Regions from separate parts of the Homo sapiens genome. Here regions 1 and 3 are each linked to region 2. Evidence: promoter capture Hi-C in 16 types of primary human blood cells and fetal thymus (Javierre and others, 2016). All regions are on one chromosome and are shown on one strand. Each heading gives the region's core, a stretch centred on a gene start or on the middle of the fragment in contact. The rest is flanking DNA. Distances are from core to core; before and after follow the strand shown.

Region 1 (3,653 bases), core at 373-2,872, 150 kb before region 2:
ATGTTATTCAGATTTCACCAGTTTTTCTGCCAATGTCCTTTTTCTGTTTGAGGACCCAATCCAGGATACCACGTTGCATTTAGTCATGTCTCCTGAGTCTCCTACCATCTCTGACAGTTTCTTCATCTTTCCTTTTTGGAAAAGATGTTTCTGCTCTTGTTTTATTTACTTCTTATTCAGGGAAGATTTTTGTTTAATTTGGTTAAATTTCTGTAATCCCAGTACTTTGGGAAACCGAGTCAAGAGGATCACCTGAGCCCAGGAGTTCAAGACCATCCTGGGCAACAGAGGTAGACCCCATCTCTACAAAAACTAACAAAAAAATCAGCCAGGTATAGTGGCACACGCTTGTGGTCCCAGCTACTCAGGATGCTGAGGTGGGAGGATCGCTTGGGCCCAGGAGTTTGAAGATGCAGTGAGCCACGATCATGCCACTGCACTCGAGCCTAAACTTTGGTGACGCCTGTAACTTTCACAGAAAGAGGTTGTGGAACAGACTAAATATCACTCATTTATTCCTTTATCCATGAATTTAACAAATATTTAATGGAGCACCTAGTATATGCCAGACACTGGAAATACTACACTCAGCAAGGTAGACAAAACTCTCCCTTCTCCTGAGCTTTCAGTCTCAGGGTGTTCTCTATTTCTTTTGACATTAAACTGAACAATCAGAAAGTAAATCTTAGGAGAGCCAATATTATGGAATATTACAGTGTGCGCTTTTGAGTCAGATAGTTTGACAAGTTTGAATTTTGACTTTTAAATTTCTAGTTGTGTGACCTTGGATAAATGATCTAACTACATGAAGCCAGTTTCTTCATCTGTAAAATGGTACCTATGTTATAGCATTTTTTTTTTTTTTTTTTTTTTTTTTGAGACGGAGTCTCACTCTGGAGTGCAGTGGTGCAATCTCGGCTCACTGCAACCTCCGCCCCCGGGTTCAAGAGATTCTCCTGCCTCATCCTCCTTGGATTACTACTGGGATTACAGCCACACTCCACCACGCCCAGCTAATTTTTGTATTCTTAGTAGAGATGGGGTTTCACCATGTTGGCCAGGATGGTCTTGATCTCCCGACCTCATGATCTGCCCGCCTTGGCCTCCCAAAGTGCTGGTATTACAGGTGTAAGCCACCGTGTCCAACCTGTTACAGCCTTTTTGAGAGGACTAAATAATAATATGTAATGTGCTTGCAATGTTGTATTTAAGGTTAATTTTATTCTTTTAACTTATTTAGACCTGAAAGCAAATAACAATAATATTATGAAATAAATGCAGTGCTAAAAGTATGTACTCAAAAAAGCATATACACACACTCACACTCAGTTTTGAGAGTATCTGGCTGTATTGAAATCTAGAAAGACTTTGCTGCAATTGTGTTTGAGGAAAAAAATCTGGAAGTGGGTGAAGGTATTCAGGAATAGATCTGGGAGGATTATTCTGATACTACACACTGGTCTGTGTCACTGGACTTTGAGCTCCTGGAGCCAGGGACTGTAACACCACCATGGGGCTTATGGTAGGCACCAAGAATATCTTTGTTAAGTGAATGACTAAAGACTTTGAGGGCAACGGCTAGAGCCATCTCACCACTCATGGGTTGTTGGAACCTGCCCAGACTTGGGCTTCTTATAGCTGACACTACAGCTTCACGAGCCTCTTTCTAACCTAAATCCATGGATCTGATAGATTTAGAGGATCCTGGAAAATAGAAAATGCAAAGCAAGATCCTGTATTGCCCAGTGGATCCTCAGGCTATGTTACAAGGGGCATTTGGCTACTCTGCTGTTTTCCTGGGAATGTTTCCTTAATTGTGGGAATCCCCACCTGAGTGTCTCCTTCCTAAATCCTCTTCCTCAGCAAATTCCTGCCCCTTTTTGGCCTCAGTCTGAATAGCCAGCTGCCTTACCCAGAATCAGATATCCCTTAAAATCTCTGTGTTTGGATTCTTCTCTTGAGTGACTTGCTGATCCTTGGTTGATTAAAGTGAGGAATGGTTTTTTGTGTTTGAGTTAATCTTTTTTGTTATTTTGTTTTTTAAACAGGTTCTCTAATTGAACAACTAACAACAGAAAAATACGAGTGCATGGTGTGCTGTGAATTGGTTCGTGTCACGGCCCCAGTGTGGAGTTGTCAGAGCTGTTACCATGTGTTTCATTTGAACTGCATAAAGAAATGGGCAAGGTCTCCAGCATCTCAAGCAGGTCAATTAATTCTCTCTTCTGAGTAGTTATTCTCCCCTATTTGATACGTTTAAGTATTATTAAGCCCAGCTTTAAAAATACAGTTTAATTTCTCTTAACTACTTTTTCTGCAGGGAGAGTATGTTACCTTGATCATGTGTTTCATATGACCAGAATTAAGTTATAGATCTTAAATAAACCAGCTAAACAACAATATTAAAATATATTTTAAGATACGACAAAATCAGTCACTCTTATTGAAAATGATGGCTTTTACTTATTATTTTTTCTTTGACCTACTGATTTTATTTCCTGTGGATACATAAACAGAAGTGTGATTGCAGGATCATATGGTAATTCTATTTTTAATTTATCTTCTTCTCATTTTTGGCCAGGCATGATGGCTCACGCCTGTAATCCCAGCGCTTTGGGAGGCCAAGGCAGGCGGATCATCTGAAGTCAGAAGTTCAAGATTAGCCTGGCCAACATGGCAAAACTCCATCTCTACTAAAGATATAAAAATTAGCCAGGCGTGGTGGCGGGCACCTGTAATCCCAGCTACTCGGGAGGCTGAGGCACAAGAATTGCTTGAATCCAGGAGGTGGAGATTGCAGTGATCTGAGATTGCACCACTGCCCTCCAGCCTGGGTGACAGAGCAAGACCCTGTCTCAAACAAACAAAAAAACATTTTTTTTTCATTTTTAAATTTTTACTATGCATACGTAATAGTTTACATGTTTATGGGGTACACATGATATTTTGATACAAGCGTACAATGTGTAATGATCAAATCAGGGTAATTGGCATATGGGGATTCCAACACCTCAAATATTTATCATTTCTTTGTGTTAGGAGCATCCCATTTCTACTCTTCTAGTTATTTTGAAATATATAATAAATTGTTGTTAGCCATAGTGCTACTAAACACTAGATCTTATTCCTTCTATCTAACTGTATTTTTTTTTTTTTTTTTTTTTTGAGACAGAGTCTTACTCTGTTACCCAGGCTGGAGTCCAGTGGTGTGATCATGTCTCACTGCAGCCTTGAATTCCTGGACTCAAATGATCCTCCTGCCTCAGACTCCCAAGCAGCTGAGACTACAGGCACATGCCACCACATCCAGCTAATTTTTTTTTTTTTTGAGACGGTCTGCTGTGTTGCCCAGTCTTGTCTTGAACTCCCAGGCTCAAGCAATTCTGCATCAGCCTCCTAAAATGCTGGGATTAGACACATGAGCCACCATGCCTAGCTAGTGGTTTTTTTTTGTTTGTTTTTGTTTTTTTTTTGAGAGGGAGTCTCACTCTGTTGCCCAGGCTGGAGTGCAGTGGCACGATCTCGGCTCACTGCAGCCTCCACCTCCCAGGTTCAAGTGATTCTTCTGCCTCAGCCTCCTGAGTAGCTGGGATTACAGGCGCGCACCACCACGCCCAGCTAATTTTTGCATTTTTAGTAGAGATGATGTTTCA
Region 2 (3,497 bases), core at 385-2,884:
ACACTCTTCTTTTGTGGTCTGGGATAAGCCTGATGATCCTGGGGCTCAGTGGGAGGACTAACGGCTCCTTTGTGAGAGAGTGAACTGAGACTTGGGAGGGAATGAGGAGGCCCCTCTAGGAAAATAGAAGACATCATCCTCCCCTAGCCTGGCTGCTCTAAAACAGGTGGCTGGACTCAGGACTCCGATAGGAGTGAGGGCTCCGAGGCAGGAGAGTGATAAAGGCCACCTCCTATTGCCTTCTTGGCACAGGAGAGAGGGGCTAGGGCTGGCTGATAGGACGACTAATCTTATGGGAGGCTGTGGATAAAATGCCCCCTGTGGCTTCCCCACTTCCTATTCTTGGAAGCCAGAAGTGGGTTTCAGCCCTCCTCTGCCCATAGATCCTGATCCTCAACCATTTGGGGATCCCTACTTGCCCTTAGTTAGGCTTCCTAGTCCACAGTGGGCCAGCTGGTCTGTACTACCCAGGGCTGGGGCAGGAACGGAGTAACCCACTCACTGCAATGTAGCAACTGAACACAGAGGAAAACAGGTGTAACCACATGAGCGGCTGAAAAATCAGAGTAACTGGGACAGGAAATAGAACATAACTGGTGGGTCTGCCAGACCTAAGAAGTGCAAACAGAGTCACTCAGAACAAAACCAGGGTGAAACTGGTGTGACCAAGGAGTAACTAGGACTGAGGAGTAACTCAGGCAGGGAAATGCTCACTCAGAGAACCCACAGAGTAACCAAGAGGCCAGGGAGTAACCAGAATGCTTGTCGTCTTCTGCACAGACGCTGACAGCATCTGTCTGGATAACAGACAGGGCCTGGGAGTCGCTGAGCACCAGGTGAGCAACTTTAGACACGCGTCCTCTGTGCCTGGGCCTAGCTTCCTCCCACCCTTCTACCGTCAGAATCTGCCTCCCTTCCCACTTCGCTGTTCGCAGCCCATGTGGCCTGCACCCTCTGCCCCCACTCGTGCAAACTGTCCTCACTCACTTCAACCTTTGGACTTTTTGAGGCTTAATTATTCATTAGAGGCCAGACACCCAGGACCCAAATAACCTAATAATGGCTCATTTGCCTCCGCCCCCTCCCCTACATCTGGGGGCTGGGATTCTGGGAATCTGGAGGGGTGTGGGAGGCAGGGGAAGTGGCTGGCTGTCCCAGACTGCAAGCGTGACCGCTGCCCCCAGCCTGTTGGCTGAGTCACTTGTGGGAGGGTAAACGATCGGCACTATCACTGGGGAGTAACAGCTGTCATTCTGGCAAGAGTCGGAGCTGTCAGAGAGGGGGTTAGAACCGTGGGGAAGAGGACTTTGGAAGTCAGCTTGATCCTCCGCGGTTAAGCGTGGGGGTCACAGCTGGGGAGGTGGGTCCAGGCTACCTTGGAAAACACAGCCCCTTCGGGGAAGTGAGAGTTTGGGGAGTGCAAGGGCTGGAGAGAGAAGGGCTTCCCCGGCTCCCTCCACTCACCACCAGGATGAGGGTCCCCAGGCACTCGGCCAGCGCCTGTCGGAGCAGCCGGTAGCGGATGTGGAGCATCTCCCCGCAGCGGGACACCAGCTCCTTCTGTCGACCCATGGCGGGGCAGGCGGCGGCGCTGTCGGGCGGGCAGGGGTGGCGGGAGGCGGTGGCGCAGCGAGCAGCGGCCTCCAGCGCTGGTGGCTCCCTTTATAGGAGCGCTGGAGACACGGGCCCCGCCCGCCCTGCAGCCCCGCCCTGCAGTCCCGGAGCGCCGAGGAGTGCGCGCCCCCTCGCCCCCGCCCCACCTCGGCTGGGAGGCTGGTGCGGACGCCGGGTGGAGGGAGCTGCGGGCATGGAGTGTGAGGAGCTTTGAGGGACGGGTGGCCTTCGGAGGGCGCTTAAGGGAGGGGACGTCAAGGGGGCTGAGAGGCTTAGGCAGATCTGAGAGCCAATGGTGGGATTATAGGCAGGGTTCAGGGCCATGGCTGGAGAGGATGCAGCTGTCATAGAGACCACCTGCGCCCTGTGATCACCCCACTTCCTTGCGGGCAGGAGGAGACCTGTCAGAAAGAAACTGGCCGCATCTCTCCAGGATGACTGGACCCAACAGATCCTCAGTTCGAGGCAGGAGGAGGAGGCTGCGAGCCCCAAGTGAGAAGCAACACTGTCTCTTCTGTCAGGACAGATAAGGCACCGACCCTTCAAGGGGACAGCTAGTGTCAGAGGGGCAGCAGTCCAGACTCAGGTGGGCACACAGACACACGTGCTGAGTTCCAACCAGACTTCATGGGCCCTTCTCCCTGTGCTATGAGCACGTCGTGTGTCGCATGTCCTGGCCAGCTATGTCCACAGCTGTGTCTACACATGGCGGATGTCCTGTGTGCCTAATTGTACGGCTGGGCATTCCTCGTGGCTGTGCACATGCCTGTTGAACATGGCTAGGTGACCTAGCTTGTCACACGTGTACCTGCGTGCATTGCTCACATGGCTCCAGAGGCTGAGCTGCAGTTGCCCCGACATGCCACATGCCACATGTTTGCCAGCAGGCTGAGTCCCAGCTGTTTTTAACCCTCTCCTCTCCCATCTGACTTACCCCCAGCCAAGGAAGAGTCTGTCTCTTTTTTTTTTTTAGACGGAGTCTCTCTCTGTCGCCTAGGTGGAGTGCAATGGCGTGATCTCGGCTCCCTGCAACCTCCACCTCCCAGGTTCAAGTGATTCTCCTGCTTCAGCCTCCCGATTAGCTGGGATTACAGGTGCACACCACCATGCCCAGCTAATTTTTGTTTTTTTAGTGGAGATGGGGATTCACCATGTTGACCAGGCTGATTTCGAACTCCTGACCACAAGTTATCCACCCGCCTCAGCCTCCCAAAGTGCTGGGATTACAGGCGTGAGCCACTGAGCCCAGCAAGTCTGCCTCTTTAAGCAAACTTAATTATGGGGGAGTCAGCCCTATCTGAGGGGGATCATGGGACAACCTTGCCCTCTCTCTCTTTTTAAAGAGTAGGGTCTTGCTCCATCACCCAGGCTGTGGTGCAATCACAGCTCACTGTAGCCTCGAACTCCTGGGCCCAAGTGATCCTCCCACCTCAGCCTCCAGAATGGATGGGACTATAGGGACTATGTGCCACCATGACACTCAGCTAATTTTTAAAAATCTGTTGTAAAAATGAGGTCTTGCTATGTTGCCCAGGTTAGTCTCAAACTCCTGGCTTTAAACGATCCTCCCACCTCGGCCTCCCGAAGTGCAACCTTGCCCTCTATGCTGCTTTTAATAACAAGGAAACATCTGGTGGCCTGGGAGCAAACAACATGCCCTTAGGCTGAGCTTCTATGGCAGCATTGCCAGAGGAGATCAAAGAAATCATTTTCCAGAGGGACTTAATCCAGGTGGGCTAATGACCCTGAGGACTTGTCCCTTGAGGGACGAATATGAGAAATAAGGGCCCCCGGCTGGGCGTGGTGGCTCACGCCTATAATCCCAGCACTTTGGGAGGCCGAGGCGGGCAGATCACCTGAGGTCAGGAGTTCAAGACCACACT
Region 3 (3,496 bases), core at 578-3,077, 170 kb before region 2:
TTTTCCCCTTTCCAGGTTTACTCTTAGATTTCTCTTTCTCCCTCTTTCACTCTCTTTCCCCTGTGGAGGAGCCCCCTTTTGGCCCTTTCTAGTTCTCTTCTTGATTCATCACTTCCTCCTTTACCTTTCATGAAAAAGCTTGTTCTCATCTTATGACTGCGATTTTGGTTTTGATTGATTAAATACTTGGAAATGAGTTTTAACTATTAAATGTTTGTAATCCTTTTTTTTTTTATCAAATAGAAAAATAGTGGCACTAAACATTGCTTCCTTTTTACAGGATGGAGTTCTGGTGGATGAATTTGGATTGCCACAGATCCCTGCTTCATAGATTTGCATCATTCAAGCATATCTTGTAAAACAAACACATATTATGGGACTAGGAAATATTTATCTTTCCAAATTTGCCATAACAGATTTAGGTTTCTTTCCTTTCTTTGAAGGAAAGTTTAATTACATTGCTCTTTTATTTTTTCCATTAAGAGACTCATTGCTTGGGAAATGCTTTCTTCGTACTAAAATTTGATTCCTTTTTTTCTTATGAAAAACGAACTCAGTTTAAAAGTATTTTTAGCTCGTATGACTTGTTTTCATTCATTAATAATAATTTGAAATAAAACTAAGGAAATGGAATCTTAAAAGTCTATGACAGTGTAACTCTACAGTCTCAAAATGACCTGATAAATTGATAAGACAAAGATGAGATTATTGGGGCTGTTCATATTATGATTCAGAATCATTTTCTATTGTGGTATTATAGGTTGGTTAAAGTGATGGCCTTTTTGATGGGTTTTGTTGTGTCTTGTGAACAAGTCGTTACTGTGTCCATTATTGGAATGGAATTATCACTACTGTATCATGAGTGGGTATTTTGATTCTATGGTTCCCTCAGTATTACATCTTGACTTGTAATCAATTATGAATATTTCTTGATATTTAATGTATAGGACATTTATTTATACTCAATAAATATTTTTCAAAAGGATATAATTTTAATAATATCACTTCAGCTTAAAACCTCTACTGCGGAAACCAAATTTAATAGAATTTTAATGTCATTTCAGCCTATAACTCCACTACAGAAACCAAATTAACCAGTAGCATTGTGAGGAAAGAGCAAGGAACAATCTGGGCTTGGGCCCTGGGTCTACCATTTACTAACTACTGAGTAGTCTATTCAACCTCTCTAACCTTCTGTTTCCTTATTAGTAAAATCATGCTTAACTCACAGAGCTTTTGTGAGGAATAATTGAGGTAATGGTCATAAGTACCTTGTTAACTGCAAGGGGCTATTCTTATATGAGGGATTGTTAACAATAAAAAAGAAACTGCTTCATTCTTTTCTTGGAAGGTGCCTGGAGTACTACAGCAAGTTCAAACTCCTGCCCAATTTCAGGGTCTTTAATGATCCTGTCCTCCCTTCCTCATTCAACTTGTTGCCAACAGCATGGCCCCTCCAGCCTAGCTGGGTGCCTCACAGTGCTATGTGCACCTGACTCTCATGTGTCTGCAGATCAAACCAATAAACATTTAGGAACACCAGCTTTGTAGAAGTCTCTGTACCAGCCCAGGGGTTACCAAGTTCCTCTCTTCAGGAGTTCTTGTCTAGTTACAAGTGGAGATGAGATAACGTATGTAACCCTCTCCTATCTCCAACCTCACCTTCTCAAGAAGCCTTCCAGAGGGAGCAAACATTATAGTATTCATCATTACCTTCTTGAAACCTTTCTTGGCTTTTCTGTGAGTTCTGTGTTTTCTTCTAATCTGGCCCACTTACTCTCTTATATGGATACCTCTTTCTTAGCCCCTTGAATATTTCTTCCATTAGAGTTCCAATCTGTATTCTACTTGAGAAATCTCACACCCATGATATCAACTATTACCTACACACTAATGACTCAAAATGACTGTCACTAGCCTAGACTTCTTATCCTTATTTTCAATTCTGGGCATTTCCACTTAAATGCCCCATCGTTACCTAGAATCTAACATATCCAAATTAAGCTCATTATCTTGGGGTTCACTGTCAGCAAACATTTCTCGTTGATTTCTCGTCTTGCTTAGTGTTACCAGTGATTCATATATTGCCCATTTTAGTGGGTGATATTTAGCCCTTTAGCTAGACCACATTAGTGCATTGGATATGAGTGAGCAATCATTCTACCTAAATCTCTACTCTCTTGGGTTTTGTGATAGTACTCTCCGGTTCTCCTGTTCCTCTAACTATTCCCTCTAAGGCTTCTTTCTGAAATCCTCAACTCTCTAACTGTAATGTTACTGCTCCTCTGGATTCTAGCTTTTACCCCCCAGACTTCTTTCTCTGTTTACTTACATTTAGTGATCTCAGCTATTCTCATGGCTTTAACTGCTAACTTCCAAATCTATACTTCTATCCCTGAACTTGCCCCTGAGTTTCAGAATCTTATTTATATCCAGCTGTTTGCCTAACAAATATTTGGATGTTCCAGAAGCCCACAAGCACCTCACATTCAAATAGCTGAAACAGCCTATCACCTTTCCTCAGACCTGAATCTCCTGCTTCTGTTTTCCCTGTCTCATGATGGGAGATGTGAGACAGGGAAACCATTGTCTCATGATGGGAGGCTGTGAGGCTAATGGAATTATTATTCTCCTATCATTTAAAACAGAAAGCGCTTGAGTTGTCCTTGATGCCTACATTTTGCCTACACAGTCAATTATCCTTAAACCCTAATCCCTGTTTCTCAAATCTAACTCCTCCTCTCCTTCTCTCAACTCTCGCTGGCCTAGATGTCTCTCACATAGTCTTTTGGAATGTCTTCTCTTCTCGCATAGTTTCACTTCCTTGAGTACACTGATCACATATAGCTACTCTTACCTTTCTAAAATATAAATCTGACTTGAATTCTTTAATGTCCTCTAATACTTCCACCGGGGCATAAAAAGCTGCCAATGACCTGGCCTCTGCCTATCTGTAATGGTTTATTGCCTAGTCTTTTCAGAAAGCATTTCCTTTCTTTCAAGGGAACTGCTCCCCCATTTCAACTGTGCGATTATTAGGAACATGCCAATTTTAGAGTAGTACTGTCCTTACCCTTCCAAGCTATGGAAGTGTGTATGTGGTCACGCTGTGTCTATCAGAGTCCATAACTCACATTTTCTAAATAGAAAGTAGGGGAAGTGCTACTCTTTGTCAGTATGAGAGATTGAAGCCAGAGGGGAGCCAAGATGAGAGACAGACTGAAAGATGTCCATGGCACTCAGCTCTGAATTCTGATCCTTGACATTCCAAGTCTCTACAACTCTTCGTTCTGTGAGGTATTTGAGGATTCTGCAAATAAACTTAACCCCCTTTTCTGCTTAAAGTAGTTGGCATTGGGTTCCTGTCACTTGCCAGTAAGAGACAGAATAATTGCTCTGCAGCTTGTGTCATGTCACACTTTTCAATTTTGTGATCTAGTAATTGTTCTGCATCTGGTCCCCCCACATCCACCATATAGCCATGATTCCTTGCCTC

Evidence for each region. Contacts are between HindIII fragments. The CHiCAGO score rates a contact against its expected background, and 5 or more counts as called.
Region 1: a contact is called between a fragment that was not itself captured here and the fragment with the promoter of AQP3 in region 2, in 3 of 17 cell types (endothelial precursors, fetal thymus and naive CD4 T cells). The highest score is 6.4, in endothelial precursors.
Region 3: a fragment that was not itself captured here is called in contact with the fragment with the promoter of AQP3 in region 2 in 1 of 17 cell types (endothelial precursors); the score reaches 6.9 in endothelial precursors.

The regions. Positions count from the first base shown.
Region 1 is chr9:33,299,215-33,302,867 of GRCh38, forward strand. It overlaps NFX1 (nuclear transcription factor, X-box binding 1), which reads left to right. Exons shown (of 24, transcript NM_002504.6): 3 at 2,049-2,207. Among named protein-coding and RNA genes, the nearest start is that of NFX1, 11 kb to the left of the region's middle. The HindIII fragment of the contact is 7,607 bases long and covers 1-3,653 here.
Region 2 is chr9:33,445,959-33,449,455 of GRCh38, forward strand. It overlaps AQP3 (aquaporin 3 (Gill blood group)), which reads right to left and starts at 1,635. Exons shown (of 6, transcript NM_004925.5): 1 at 1,465-1,635. The coding sequence starts at 1,572. RefSeq lists a silencer at 1,621-1,810. The HindIII fragment of the contact is 14,846 bases long and covers 1-3,497 here.
Region 3 is chr9:33,280,529-33,284,024 of GRCh38, forward strand. CHMP5 (charged multivesicular body protein 5) reads left to right here. Exons shown (of 8, transcript NM_016410.6): 8 at 281-1,542. The coding sequence ends at 331. Among named protein-coding and RNA genes, the nearest start is that of NFX1, 8.2 kb to the right of the region's middle. The HindIII fragment of the contact is 3,383 bases long and covers 137-3,496 here.